5 separate regions of the Homo sapiens genome follow, and regions 1, 2, 3 and 5 are each linked to region 4. The links are contacts of gene promoters, found by promoter capture Hi-C in blood cells and fetal thymus (Javierre and others, 2016). All regions are on one chromosome and are shown on one strand. The core of a region is centred on a gene start or on the middle of the fragment in contact, and the rest is flanking DNA. Distances in the headings are between cores, read along the strand shown. Region 1 overlaps SKIDA1 (SKI/DACH domain containing 1). Region 2 overlaps MLLT10 (MLLT10 histone lysine methyltransferase DOT1L cofactor). Region 3 overlaps WAC-AS1 (WAC antisense RNA 1). Region 4 holds the start of ENKUR (enkurin, TRPC channel interacting protein). Region 5 overlaps MPP7 (MAGUK p55 scaffold protein 7).

Evidence for each region. The method cuts DNA at HindIII sites, captures the fragments that hold promoters and counts their contacts. A CHiCAGO score of 5 or more calls a contact.
Region 1: a fragment that was not itself captured here is called in contact with the fragment with the promoter of ENKUR in region 4 in 3 of 17 cell types (activated CD4 T cells, naive CD8 T cells and non-activated CD4 T cells); the score reaches 11.9 in activated CD4 T cells.
Region 2: a contact is called between a fragment that was not itself captured here and the fragment with the promoter of ENKUR in region 4, in 2 of 17 cell types (naive CD8 T cells and naive CD4 T cells). The highest score is 6.3, in naive CD8 T cells.
Region 3: a fragment that was not itself captured here is called in contact with the fragment with the promoter of ENKUR in region 4 in 1 of 17 cell types (fetal thymus); the score reaches 9.4 in fetal thymus.
Region 5: a fragment that was not itself captured here is called in contact with the fragment with the promoter of ENKUR in region 4 in 1 of 17 cell types (fetal thymus); the score reaches 6.5 in fetal thymus.

What each region holds. Positions count from the first base shown.
Region 1 is chr10:21,520,118-21,522,817 of GRCh38, reverse strand. It overlaps SKIDA1 (SKI/DACH domain containing 1), which reads left to right. Exons shown (of 4, transcript NM_207371.4): 3 at 1,338-1,429. Among named protein-coding and RNA genes, the nearest start is that of SKIDA1, 4.2 kb to the left of the region's middle. The HindIII fragment of the contact is 1,671 bases long and covers 596-2,266 here.
Region 2 is chr10:21,538,617-21,541,316 of GRCh38, reverse strand. MLLT10 (MLLT10 histone lysine methyltransferase DOT1L cofactor) reads right to left here. Exons shown (of 23, transcript NM_001195626.3): 3 at 2,405-2,484. Among named protein-coding and RNA genes, the nearest start is that of MLLT10, 5.7 kb to the right of the region's middle. The HindIII fragment of the contact is 1,652 bases long and covers 485-2,136 here.
Region 3 is chr10:28,526,570-28,529,269 of GRCh38, reverse strand. The region is part of intron 1 of WAC-AS1 (WAC antisense RNA 1); the gene reads left to right. Among named protein-coding and RNA genes, the nearest start is that of WAC-AS1, 4.4 kb to the left of the region's middle. The HindIII fragment of the contact is 496 bases long and covers 1,106-1,601 here.
Region 4 is chr10:25,014,771-25,017,470 of GRCh38, reverse strand. It overlaps ENKUR (enkurin, TRPC channel interacting protein), which reads left to right and starts at 1,313. Exons shown (of 6, transcript NM_145010.4): 1 at 1,313-1,611. The coding sequence starts at 1,535. THNSL1 (threonine synthase like 1) reads right to left here and starts at 859. Exons shown (of 3, transcript NM_024838.5): 1 at 779-859. RefSeq lists enhancers at 138-217, 817-1,111, 422-1,184 and silencers at 468-547, 728-927, 1,258-1,307. The HindIII fragment of the contact is 2,880 bases long and covers 43-2,700 here.
Region 5 is chr10:28,299,335-28,302,170 of GRCh38, reverse strand. The region is part of intron 1 of MPP7 (MAGUK p55 scaffold protein 7); the gene reads left to right. Among named protein-coding and RNA genes, the nearest start is that of MPP7, 2.3 kb to the left of the region's middle. The HindIII fragment of the contact is 1,034 bases long and covers 826-1,859 here.

The sequences.
Region 1 (2,700 bases), core at 182-2,681, 3.5 Mb after region 4:
ATTTTGATTATGGGTCAGTAGACAACATGGCATATACCCTGTGTCCCAAACTTCTGTTAAAGACAGGGTTTTTAAATGCCTAAGAACAGAGGGATGGGCCCTTTTGGAGACTTACCCTGATTTGTTCAAATGAACCAGAAAGAAAAAAAATTAAAGGAAATATACTAAGTTATCATTTGTTTCTCAATTTAGCCATTTTCTACTCCTTCATTCCCATTTTCCCATCCCAAAAAGCAGAGAAGATGTGATATTAGATAAACTTAGCTAAAGAACTGTTGAGATTTTATTGTCTTATATCCTCAACTAATTCAGCCATATGAGACTTTATTATTATTTTAAACTTTTATCTTGTGAATATTATAGTTACTTTTAGTTAATAGCACAAGGGGCTTTTATTCTTTTAACCAGCATACTTACATTGTTGAGGCCTTTGTGATGTTCCTTACTCTTTTCTGTCTGAATTCACTTTGAACAAAATGTGCCCAGCAATCACTAAAACAAACGTATATGGTGAAGAGCTGGTGGCGGGGGGGGGGGGGGGGGGGGGGGGGTGGCTGTGATCCTCATTTAAATTATGTATGTATGGGTGAAAGCTTGGAAGGAAAAGGATTATTTTAATGCTCTTCAATACTTTAATTATATGACAGTTGTAGTGTAGAAATGCAAAAGTACTCTTAGGTTTTCCTTCAGGTTTTCAAAAGAACTTTCCCCATTAGTAAACTACTCCTGCAAATTGCTATTGCATTTCCCAGCTAACCATTTAAAAGACTGTAAATGCCGTGTGCATTACTTCGCTCCAGAGGAAAGAGGTCAGACTGAATTGCAATGGTATTGAAACATAAAATACAGTGAAAATAAATCAAAATAGAGCATCTAAAGGTAAATCTAGCACATTCATATGGGATAAGTAAAGACAAATATGTTCATATTTTCATGGCCCTTCACTTTAAAAACTGAAAGTGCTGATTTTTTACAATAAATGCAGAAGTAAGTGGACATTAGGAATATATTTCAATCTCTATTTGCTAAAGAGGATTTTCCTTTTGCAAGCAGCTTTGTTTTCAAAGCTAAAGCACTTTTTACAATAGTGTGTAGATTAGGCATTCCTCACTGAGTAAATAATCACATTTAATTAAACTCAATGCATATCATACATGTGCCTAAATTCACAATAATTTCCTGGACCCACAGAGAAGGATATATATATATAAATGTTAATTTGGACATATCTATCTACATATGTACTTGCATTTGAGAAACATAGAAGTTGATATATCTTTTCTTAAAAAAATTTGAATACAGTCCATTATCTGAATTGGGTTCATCTTTGATTGTAGAGTCAGCTGACATGGTCAACAAATTTATCAAAGAAACCCCCTGGCTTTTGAAGAATAGTACTTTATACATCTGGATCTGCACATCAGGCAAAGTAAGTAAATTATTGCATAACTTTAAGCATAATTGATAACAGACACCTTTAATTTTTCATCCCCATTCTTTTGGCCAGCTTTCACATTAATAATCTAAGCCATAAATGTTGGTAGCTATTGATCGAAATCCCCGGTGTGCATGCAAATCCATCTTAAAGTCCCCTGCCTTTCATGTGTGAGCGCTCAGGGGCCTCTGCTAGATCTTTTTATCGGGATCGACCCCCAATGTGCCTGGAGAAGACCCCGGATATGCAACGTGTGCTGATGGCCCAAGAAAGCTGTCTGTCACATTCTGTGTTTGTGTGTGTGTGTGTGTGTGTGTGTGTGTGCATGCACTCATTCAAGCAAGAGTGCTGGAGCCTAACACACACATACACACAAGGATGGGGAAGTTAAAGGAACAAAAGAATGTATTAGACACGAAGAAAGATGTGTAATAGTAGTATTAAAAATGTATAAGTGTAAAGGTGTCTGAGTGTACATATAGAGATACTTGCACAAAGTCTATATAGACACATTTCTCAAATTCCCTAGCCTTTATTTTTCTCTATTTCACCCAACAGATTATGCCCTTAGTTAAAAAAAAATAACTTAATATGCTACTAGTTTTCAAAACCACCTATATTGCCAATATTTTAAAGGTGGAAAGAGAGGAAGAGAGAGGAAAAGAAGGTAGTTTTGAAATAGCTACTAAATCATGTTGCTATGTGTAGGAGGACTAGGAGAGAGAGAGAGAGAGAGGAAATATAAACAGGAATGGAGAACAACTAAAACTACCTGGAGAAAAAAAAAAAAGGATGCTCTAGCCAACCTTTTGTACTGTCTTCTCAAAAGCTTTTTCTGAGTTTACTATTTCTTGGCTGACTCTTTGGTCTAATTCTTAAAGCTGGGGGAGGGGAATGGCGGGGGTGGGGGTGGGAGGGCGAGGGCTGGCAGTACTATATAAGTGCATCAGAAGGAATTTTAAAACGACATTATTGTTGCTGGCAATAGAAAGACTCTGGTCATTCTACTTTTAAAAACAAACACCAGCATCTGCTTTTCCTGGAAACTTCGCTTTCTGCCTAAACCTTGTGCATTTTGTCTCCTGTGAAAGTGAAAGAGAAAAACACGGTGTAATAGATCCAGATGCAAAAGAAAGCCAACTCGCTGGATGGTATTAGCTGTGACGAGGCATTGTTCATTGCTGCCTCTCGGTTACGTTTAAAGCCTGAAATATCACGAGATCCATTCAATGATCCTTCTTTCATTCAAGGGACAAAAATGTAAT
Region 2 (2,700 bases), core at 61-2,560, 3.5 Mb after region 4:
GAGCTCAGGACTTCAAGGCTGCAGTGAGCAATGATTGCGCCACTCCACTCCAGCCTGGGGAACAGAGCAAGACTGTCTCAAAATAATAAAATACAAATAGTTCTGAGACTCAACACATTTTTATAGGTTACTCAACCATTATTTCTTTCTTTTTTTGTGAGACGAGTCTCGCTCTGTCGCCCAGGCTGGAGTGCAGTGGCGCAACCTCAGCTCACTGGAACCTCTGCCTCCCAGGTCCAAGCGATTCTCCTGCCTCAGTCTCCCAAGTGGCTGGCATTACAGGTGCACACCACCACACCCAGCTAATTTTTGTATTTTTAGTAGAGGTGGGGTTTCGCCATGTTGCTCAGGCTGGTCTCAAACTCCTGACCTCAGGTCATCCACCCACTTTGGCCTCCCACAGTGCAAGGATTACAAGCACGAGCCACAGCACCCAGCCCATTATTTCTACCGCTCAAAAATTGCCCAGGCAAACACAAAAGCTTCTGCTTTTGCTATATGCCTAGGTAAAGAAGCTAAAATGTTTGTTCTCTACCTTCAGTCTAATTCCATAATCAACACCAAGGGAAAGGAATTTGCTATAACAAGATGTCTTGGAATAAATAATAAATCAATAAATATAATAAGATTTTAAAAAGGAACTATCATATTTTAAATGGTAGGTTTGCATAACTAATGAAAATAAAATCTATTTCTGATATTTTCAGAAATCCAAATGGGAAAAATGCTTGTGGATACAAAGGATAAACATACCTCCCTCACTGTGTTTTTTGTGAGACAGTCTCTCACTCTGTCACCCAGGCTGGAGTCATGGTTCACTGCAGCCTCAACCTCCCAGGTTCAAGCAATCCTCCTGTCTCAGCTTCCAGAGTAGCTGGGAGTACAGGTGCAAGCCACCACGCCCAACTAATTTTTTTTTTTTTTTGAAACAGTCTCACTCTGTTTGGAGTGCAGGCTGGAGTGCAGTGGCACAATCTTGGCTCACTGCAACCTCTGGCTCCCTCATTCAAGCGATTCTCCCGTCTTAGCCCCCAGAGTAGCTAGACTATAGGCACGCGCTGCCACATCCAGTTAATTTTTTGTATTTTTAGCAGAGATAGGTTTCACCATGTCGGCCAGGCTGGTCTCAAACTCCTGACCCCAAGTGATCCGCCCACCTCAGCCTACCAAAGTGCTGGAATTATAGGCATGAGCCACTGTGCCCAGCCCCAACTAATTTTTAAAATTTTTCTTTTGTAGAGACTAAGTTGACCAGGCTGGTTTCAAACTCCTGGACTCAAGCAATCCTCCTGCCTCGGCTTCCCAAAGTGGTGGGATTACAGGTGTGAGTCACTGCACCCGGCCTACCTCCTTTTTGTTTTTTTTTTTCCTTTCCTGAGAGTCTTGCTCTGTCACCCAGGTTGGAGTGCAATGGCATGATCTCAGCTCACTGCAACCTCCGCCTCCCAGGTTCACGCCATTCTCCTGCCTCAGCCTCCCAAATAGCTGGGATTATAGGGCGTGCCACCACGCCCAGCTAATGTTTGTAATTTGTTTTTCTTTTTTTTGAGACAGAGTTTCACTCTTATTGCCCAAGCTGGAGTGCAATGGCACCATCTCAGCTCACTGCAACCTCTACCTCCCGGGTTCAAGTAATTCTCCTGCTTCAGCCTCCTAAGTAGCTGGGACTACAGGTGCTTGCCACACCCAGCTAATTTTTGTATTTGTAGTAGAGACGGGGTTTCACCATGTTGGCCAGGGTGGTCTCCATCTTTTGACCTCGAGATACTCCCGCCTCGGCCTCCCAAAGTGCTGGGATTACAGGTGTGAACCACTGCACCCGGCACCTCCTTCATTCTTATAAGAGGTTTAGAAAAGTTCTGAAATAAGGTAACCACCCAAGTTAAAAAAAAAAAAAAAAAAAAGATTTTTATGTTGGTTTGCCAAAGGGACTGAATGCCTGAAATCAGTGAGTGTTCGAAGTTAAACTATACACCCAAAGATGTAGTAAAAGGAATATGATAGTCACTAAAATTATTGGGTTTTTTTCCCATTACACAAAACCTAAGAGAATTATCAATGTAACTTCCTTATGTTTCTATTTCCATTATATTTTAACTATGATTAGCCAGTGTAACCTTCAAACTTCTTCAAGCTTTCTTGATTCTGTAACTAGTTAACAAAGCCCAAATATGACTATGTATTTTTGTTTTCAAAGTATCCAAAATATACTCACTTGATTCCATTTGTTTTTCAGTTTTACAAAATCTGTTTAATACTCCAAGTCAATATTTGGCCTAAATTATCTCTTACATTATGATATTTGAAGAAATGACTGACAACCCCACAAACCACAACAGGAGTGCAGTTCCTAATTTCCTAACCTACTCACTAAAGTTTAATGTTTTTGATAAATAGTCCTTACCACTCTGGCTGCTCTCTCCTGAGATTCACATTTCCTGCAAAACCACGGTCCAGTGGGTACTTGAACAATGCCATAGCAAGCTGTTGAAAAATGAAATGTGTTAAAATGTTAAGATTCGAAGAACTATGGAAAAATCAAATACCCTTTCAAAGCCCTATTAATCCACCTGTCACTATTCAAGTAAACTACCTCTTTACAGAGAAGTAAAACAGTTCACATCCTATTTATCACATATACAGCTTACTTAATTAACAAGTAAAAATTTTAAATGCAACTCTTTTGTGTTACCTCATCTA
Region 3 (2,700 bases), core at 104-2,603, 3.5 Mb before region 4:
TTTCTCATTCTTTTCCCACCATTCTACCCTCCCTCCCTGTTTTCTCCAGTATACCAAGCATGCCTCTGCCTCAGGACCTTTGCACTGCTGTCCCTTTGCCTGGAATCCTCTTCCCCCTTAGTACTTGCTTGGCTCACACCCTCACTTCTTCAGGTCTCTGCTTAAGTCTTGTCTTGTTTAATTGAGAACTCTACATGATGGCGCCCTACCACCATGTTGCTCCCTTAACCCTGATCTATTTTTCCTAAACCATTTGCCATATATTTTGTTTATTGGTTGTTTCCCACTAGAATGAATGCTTCATGTGGCATACCATAAATATTTGTTGAATTAAAGGATATTTGCCTGCAGAAACGTATACGATAAAAATAGCAAAATTGAATTCTCAAGAGGAAAAAGCTTGGGTTCTATTTCTGTTTGCTTTGTGAAAGAATAAAAGAATTACAAATCCAGTCCTGTTCTCACAAATAAGATGGAGGATAAAGCTAGATTATTCCTAATACAGGCAAAATATTGTAATAGATATTAAAAAATGTACATGAATTTGCATGTATAGCAAATCTTAAAGCAGATTATTTACACTGCTATCTAATGAGAAATATCAAGTTTGCAAATGAGTAAAAGACCCATATTTCAACCTGTAGACTGAATACATACCAACCAATAGAGGGGAAAAACTATCAACTCATAGGTTATATATAGGTTGACCAAGATTTTAATGTGATTCTATTGAAGGAAGAACTGAAGGAAGAACCAAAAAGTGAAATCCTCAAGCCTCTAGTTGTGAAAGGGATTTTTTTTTTTTTTTTGAGACAGAGTCTGACTCTATAGCCAGGCTGGAGTGCAGTGGTGTGATCTCAGCTCCCTGCAGCCTCCACCTCCCGGGTTCAAGCGATTCTCCTGCCTCAGCCTCCCAAGTAGCTGGGACTATGGGTGCGTGCCACCACACCCAGCTAATCTTTGTGTTTTTAGTAGATGGGGTTTCACCATGTTGGCCAGGATGGTCTCGATCTCTTGACCTTGTGACCTGCCACCTCCGCCTCCCAAAGTGCTGGGATTACAGGCGTGAACCACCACGCCTGGCCAAAAGGGACTTTAAAAAGCTTTGTTGCAATTTCTAAAACATCATAAGGATATATTTCCAAAAATTTTCACATACTTCATTTCTATCTCTTTTTTCTCTGTCCTTGCCTTCCTCACAAACTCAGCCTAGTATAGTGATTAAAAGCGTGGGTTTTAGAATCAGTATGACATTGCGTAGAGCTCAGGCTACATTATTGACTACCAACATCACCTTGGGCAAATTACTAGTCTTGAGGATTATCCTGCTTTGTCTCTAAACTTCACTTAATAGGGTATAGTACTGTTTGTGAAAAGTAATTGAAATTGTGTAAATAATTTAGCAGTACCTGGCACATACATGTTTCGCTACTGGTGGTTATTCATTTTGAAAAAATAGTATTGAAGTTCTGCGTATCAAGTCTTAGGAACATAGTGTTAAGCAAAGTCACTTGGGTTTTGCTCTTATGGAGTTTGTATTTTAAGAATAATACATAACTAAAAGGAGATGCTTTGGGATCTCAGATTTGTGATATGAAGCTTTCATTCAATTATGACGAAAAATAAGAAACTGCAACAAAAATTACTATCTAGGAAAGGGGAGTAAACACCAGGACGTCACCATATCAACATATGGTACTAGGCAGGGATGATGTAAATAATGCAATCAACAGATCTTGGGAGAATTACTTACTGACTCAAGATTGGCCATTTTTTAAAGTTCTTCCAAGTAATAGATACTAAAGTTCAGCTAATATTGAGAAGCATACCCTAAACCCTTTACCTGTGTCTGGCGAAACTTCAACCTGAGTTAATCCAACCATTCATTTTCTGAGCACCTCTGAGCAGTTGCATGCTGCTGAAGATTATAAAATAATAGAATATACTGATTCCACTTAAGCCTCATCATCACCAAAATCAAATGACATAGTAATTTAGAAAGTAATAAGTGCTACAGAGAACAGTAGGTAAAGTGTTGGATGGAGGAGTAATGTTTTCAAGTAGAGTGGTTATTGAGCACATGGCGTTTGAGCAAAGATTTGAAGGTGATGAGGTAGCAAGCTATACAGGTGTCTGGAAAGGAATGTTTCTGGCAAAGGGGACAGCAAGAGCAAAGGTCCTGAGGAAAGACTGCCTAATGTGTTCAGAAATAATAAGGAAAGCTCTGTGATTGAAGGGCAGTGACTGAGAGGGAAAATATTAGGAAATGAGGTGAGGTTAAAGAAGTGGGTGGAGGAACAGACTGTGAAGAATCTTATAGGCCATTATAAGAAGATTGGCTTTTATTCTGAGTTAATTGGGAAGCCATTGAAAAGTTATGAGCAGAAAATGACATGGCTACTGTGTTGAAAATATCTGTATTGCAAGGCAAGGAGCAGGGAAACCAGTTAGGATCCTACAGCATTGCCTAAGTGCTTCAGGTTACTGTTTCAAAGCGGAAAGTAAGCTTCTCATCTAAGGCCATTTTCTCTATCTGTCCTTTCTTGCCACCCCCCCTTCAGTTCACCTTATATTATCAATTATCCCTTCCTTTGTATATTCAAACTCTCTTTCATCTGGATTATTTCCACTGATCTTTAAACATAATAAATCCTACCACCAGAAAACCCTTTCTTGACCGTATACTCTTAACTGCTCACT
Region 4 (2,700 bases), core at 64-2,563:
AAACCCAGACTCAAGTGTGTTTTCTCTCCTCTCCGGGAAGCTTTATTTCCTTCGGGCAGAGTGGCCTCTGTACCGGTGGTTCAGAGGCATCCATCTTCCTCCCCAAATCCTATTACCAAAATGTCTTTTAAACACTCGGGTAAAAGCGTCTAAATGACTTTCCTACGGCAGGCCCATGTGCATAGATTTACGGGTGACCAGGTGGAACAAAAAGGAATAAAACCGCTTCTCAGAAGACAATTTTCCAACAAGGGACACCAAAAACTGGACAAAAACGTAAAGGCCCACTTAAAAGGCTTCTCCTCTTAGTTTAGGCTGCTCATTTACAAAGAGCAGGTCCACTGGTTCCTGGAGAACGACCTAGAGGAAGAGTCCCGACCCGGGGAAGAGCAGGCGCAGAGCCGACCCGGAGGACCGCCCAAGGGGCGGTCCCGGGAGCAGGGGCGGGAGGGCGAGCGCAGCAGGCGGAGGAGGCCGCGGGCCCCGTGCGCGCACTCACACACGTGGCGGGCAGGGCTGCGCGGCGTTCCGAGGAGCCTCGACCAGAAGCAGCAGGAAAAATGCGCGCAGAGTTGAGATGACCAGCGAGTAGCGGAAAGGGGAAGGGACGGTACGGGGAAAGGCATGCGATGGGAGCGGGCTGGCTTCTAGTTTTCCTTCCTTTCTCCTCCAATAACTCACCAAGGAAATCTCACTGAGAAGACGGGGGAAATGAAAGGAAATGGGGGAGCAGTGTCCACGAGCCGCTAAAGCCTCCACAGGAGACGGAGCACCGTACCTGCAGCTAGCTCCCCGGTCCCGCCCCCGCGCAGTGGACTCTGCGCCTGTGCCTGCGGCGGCCAGCGTGCCTCCGCTCCACGCCCTTCCCCGAGCGGCCTCGCGCAGGGCACGTGACTCTCCTTTCTCACTGTAGCCTATCCGAGCACTCCGATCTCCTCAGGCTCCTCCCCTCCCTCGTCTCCCTGGCGGCGCTGGCCTTGCGTCCTCGTGGTCTCAGCCGCTCGCTCCGCCCACACCGCGATTGGGGCCTGCTCACAAAAACCTTATTGGGTGACGCCTGCGCACCAGCTGCGCTTTGCCGTCTCTACTAGGATTTTTCTTTTTTCCCCAGATACACAGAAATAGAAAAGAGCACAGTTTTTAAGGGGACATCATTTTCACCCCGTTAACTTTCAAAGGCACGTAAAAACAGTGGCTTCCAAATGAGCTTCTCTAGCAGAAGGCGCTGCAGAAAGAGGGAAGAGGGGAGACCTAGTTTGCGGTGCTGCCTGCCACTTCCTCGTTGCCTAGTAACGGTTTCCACGGCAACCGCACAGTCAACGACGCTTAGCAATCCGGAGAGAAATAGGGTGTTTTCTTCCCGAGAGAGGACTGCTAAGAGGGGGTTAAAGGGGGACGATGTGAAGGAGAGAACCTGTGGTCCTTCAGAAGGCGAAGAAGAAAGAAAGGGGAAGCAGTGAAGAAAGGGACGGAGATACTGGGACAGGGAGAAAAAAGTTGTGGAGAGTAGCTTTTAAGGAGTCATTTGGTGGCCATGGATCCAACGTGCTCTTCTGAGTGCATTTATAACCTCATACCCAGTGACTTGAAGGAGCCTCCCCAGCCTCCTAGGTATGTGGATAAGCAAAGACTATCACTTGAAACAAGAATGGGGAATACTCAGTATTAATTAAGCATACATATACTGGAATTTTTAATAATAAATAAAATGTATTTTTGCCTCGATGAAGTAGCCTTGGAGGATAACTTGTTAGAGAAAAGGTCGAAATATCTAGGTATTCAGCATCTCACAGTTTTACAGAGAGGGCAGTCTGGCGCTGTGAGATGACCATTTTATTATATTACACTTAACCTCTTATTAATACGGTATGTGATTATTGTGTAATTTAATTATATGTGATATACAGCATAGTATGAAGTTTCATGTTGAAAAGAAAAAAATCACAATTCTATTATCTTGTTTAAGGATACTTGATGTTTGGTTTCAGGAGTTCGGTGTTGTATTTCTAACTGCACTACTCCCTCTCTAATGGGATAGGATAGGACTTTTCCCCCAAGATTTTTATGAAATATAAATTTACATTTGCTTTTGAGCCTCAGGTTTTTGATCAGTGAAACGAAATATCTACCACTATTAGGCAGTTTCTAAGGACTTTTTCAGATCTAATGGTTTAAATGGAAGGAAGAATTGGTGGATAGATAATGAACCAAAAAATATGTAATTGAGTTGAAATTTTACATAGGTCTTAGAACCTCTTAAATTCTCCAAATCTCAAAAACGTGCAAAGGAAGCACTTCAGTTACTCCCATCTGTAGGGACTTCTTAGAACTTACTTAAATCTGTGGGGAGCAAAGAAAGTAGTGGAGAAAATCTCATTTCTCCTAGGACTTGAAATGTTTCCTGTCTTTTACCATCATCCTTGTCCGTATGCAAGTCAAAACCACATTTGAAAAGGACTGGACTAAAAATCGGGCCTAGCAATTAATTGTCTTTGTGAACTTTAGAATAAAGTTTCATTTGTTTACTGATCTGTGAGATAAATGTACCAGATAATATCCAAGGCCCCTTTTAGATCTAATGGTCAATTATTTTTACTAGTATTAGGGTAATAGCTTCAACAAGTAGGCAGCTTCTTCAATTTTAAGTATCTGGTTTAAATTAGAGCAGTAACTGTATTACATCTCCATTAGCATATCAAC
Region 5 (2,836 bases), core at 93-2,592, 3.3 Mb before region 4:
TGAAAGGATTGTGGGGGTGGGACCTTGTTTCTGTCACTGTGCCATGGGTGGGAGTAGAATTGTGATTTTTTTCTTTTTCTAATTTTTAAAAGCAATATTCACATTTAAAAAAGGGGGGGCTCTCTAAAAACAGTCTCTGTACTCGAGGCTTTGGGGATGCACCTGCTAGTCAGGCAGTAATAGTTTGCAGGTAAATCCTGGGCTATTAATTACGTAATTTGATTTACTTATAAAGAAGTATCTTGAATTGTTGCTGCCTTTCCTTTGACTTGCTCAATATATTGCTTGTTTACAAGTGAATTGATGAAGGTCACTGAGTTTTAGCGGTAATGTCACAGCGATGGCCCTTGGAGAGTTTTCTATGCTCAGGTTCACTCTGGTTCTATAAAAACAGTATTTCCATTTAATCGTGAAGCTCATAGCACTCTATCAATTATATAGTATGCCATCCTCCTACTCTTCTGAGGCAGGCTGTGCATAGCATGTCCATTTTACAGGTATGTCAACTGAAAGCCCTAGAAATGAAAGGAATCCTGCCCCACTTTACTCCTACTTTATTTTATACCTATAATGGATTTAATCCAAAATCTGGGTAAGATTCCCGCCATCAAGCCAACTTCTGCATACCAATTTGATCCCGTATACACAGGTCAGAGGTGGAGATGGTTATTTTCAAGTAAAGAAATATTATCTGCGAGGTTTTTCTTTCCATTCAGGTTGCTTAGCTAGTTTGAATTTCAGGTGAAAGGTAATTTTCCACACAGGCAAAACAAACAAAAGTTAGGAATGCTGTGTGAAAATCTCTATTTTAAATTTTGGGAAGCTTTCCAAATTAGAGAACCTTATTTGTGTTTGCATCTCTAGCTCAGCATTGAATTTCGGTACCTTTTTTTGAATTGAATAGAAATAATTGATATGCAGAAGGAAAATACTAATGAAGTGTAATGCATTTTGATCATGACTTATGACTTTGTTTCGGGAAGTGTTTACTGTAAATTTATAGACGGATTGAAGAATAATTTCTTAATTAGAATAACTTGACCAAAGGAGTTTGGGCATTAGTGTGGGACAGGCTGAAATGGGTAGTTGGGAGTAGCCGCTTGTATGATGTTAAGGCTTAGGGAATTCTAGAGAATCGTTAGGTTTTGTTAAATTTACTAGTTATCAGGAACATGAAAATGTCTTATGGATTACTGAATGGAACTCTTTTTTTTTTTTTTTCTGAGGTGGAGTCTCACTCTGTTGTCCAGGCTGGAGTGCTGTGGCTCACTGTGATCTCTGCCTCCCTGGTTCAAGTGATTCTCCTGCCTCAGCCTCTTGAGTAGCTGGGACTACAGGCGCATGCCACCACGCCCAGCTATTTTTTTTTTTTTAATATTTTTGTAGAGATGGGGTTTCACTATGTTGGCCAGGCTGGTCTCGAACTCCTGACCTCAAGTGATCTGCCTGCCTTGGCCTCCCAAAGTGCTGGGATTACAGGCGTGAGCCATTGCACCCAGCCTGAATGTAACTGTTCTAATCATGAAGTTATCTCTTGTTTTGTGGCTAATACCTCTGTTTCACATGTACATTTTAACATATTCATGTAACATATAAGGCAACTCTTCTTACACAAGGCTGTCACTCTAGCCCAGCATTTATTTACTTATTTATGTTTTAGTGGCTTTATTTAACTTTTACTCTCCTGTCAAAATTTCTAGCACCCAAGCAAAAATTTCCATAAAGGAACTTTTATCATCTGTTGATTATACAGAAAATGAATCATTTATTCTCATAAGCCCAGCCCTCTTGCATTGTGGGACACTGGAAAGATATTTTGGCTGTTTGTAAAGTATTTGCTTGTATTCTTACCTGAAGCTTTGACTTCTCCCCCTCCCCCAATGGTTTTCAGAGTTTCTGTGACTTTTTTCTTTAAATTAATTATGACACTACCTGACTTCCACTAGATGGTGCACTGGGGGGCGCTTACTGGAGATTTCAAACAGATTTTTGTTTTTCCTTGTTATAAACATTTCACTGACAAAGATACAAAGGTACTGCAGCTGTTTCTCTCCTAATTGCAATTCAGACAAAATTGTAATGAATGACTTAAGTCTTGAGTTTTGGCCAGGCATGGTGGCTCACGCCTGTAATCCCAGCACTTTGGGAGGCCGAGGCGGGCGGATCACAAGGTCAGGAGATTGAGACCATCCTGGCTAACACGGTGAAACCCTGTCTCTACTAAAAAATAGAAAAAATTAGCCGGGCGTGGTGGTGGGCGCCTGTAATCCCAGCTACTCGGGAGGCTGAGGCAGGAGAATTGGCCTGAACCCAAGAGGCAGAGCTTGCAGTAAGCTGAGATCGTGCCACTGCACTCCAGCCTGGGCCACAGAGCGAGACTCCGTCTCAAAAAAAAAAAAAAAAAGTCTTGAATTTTGTTAAATGAGATACATTCGGAAGGAAAGGGTATTCCTTCATTTTGAATTTAAAGTGAAGGAAATTGTTAGTCAGGCTTGCTCTCTGAAGATACTGTGTTTTTTACAAACTGAAGGTTCGTTGGCAACCCTGCAAGTCGATTGGTGCTATTTTTCCAATAGTGTATGTTCATTTTGTGTGTCTCTGTCATATTTTGGTAATTCTCACAATATTGCAAACTTTTCATTGTTATTCTGTCTGTTATGGTGATCTCTGGTCAGTGATCTTTGATGTTACGATTCTAATTGTTTTGGGGCTCCATGAACTGCACCTATATAATATGGTGAACTTAACTGATAAATGTTACATATGTTCTGATATCTCCACCAACTGGCCATTCCCCAACTCTCTTCCTCTCCCCAGGCCTCCCTATTCCCTGAGA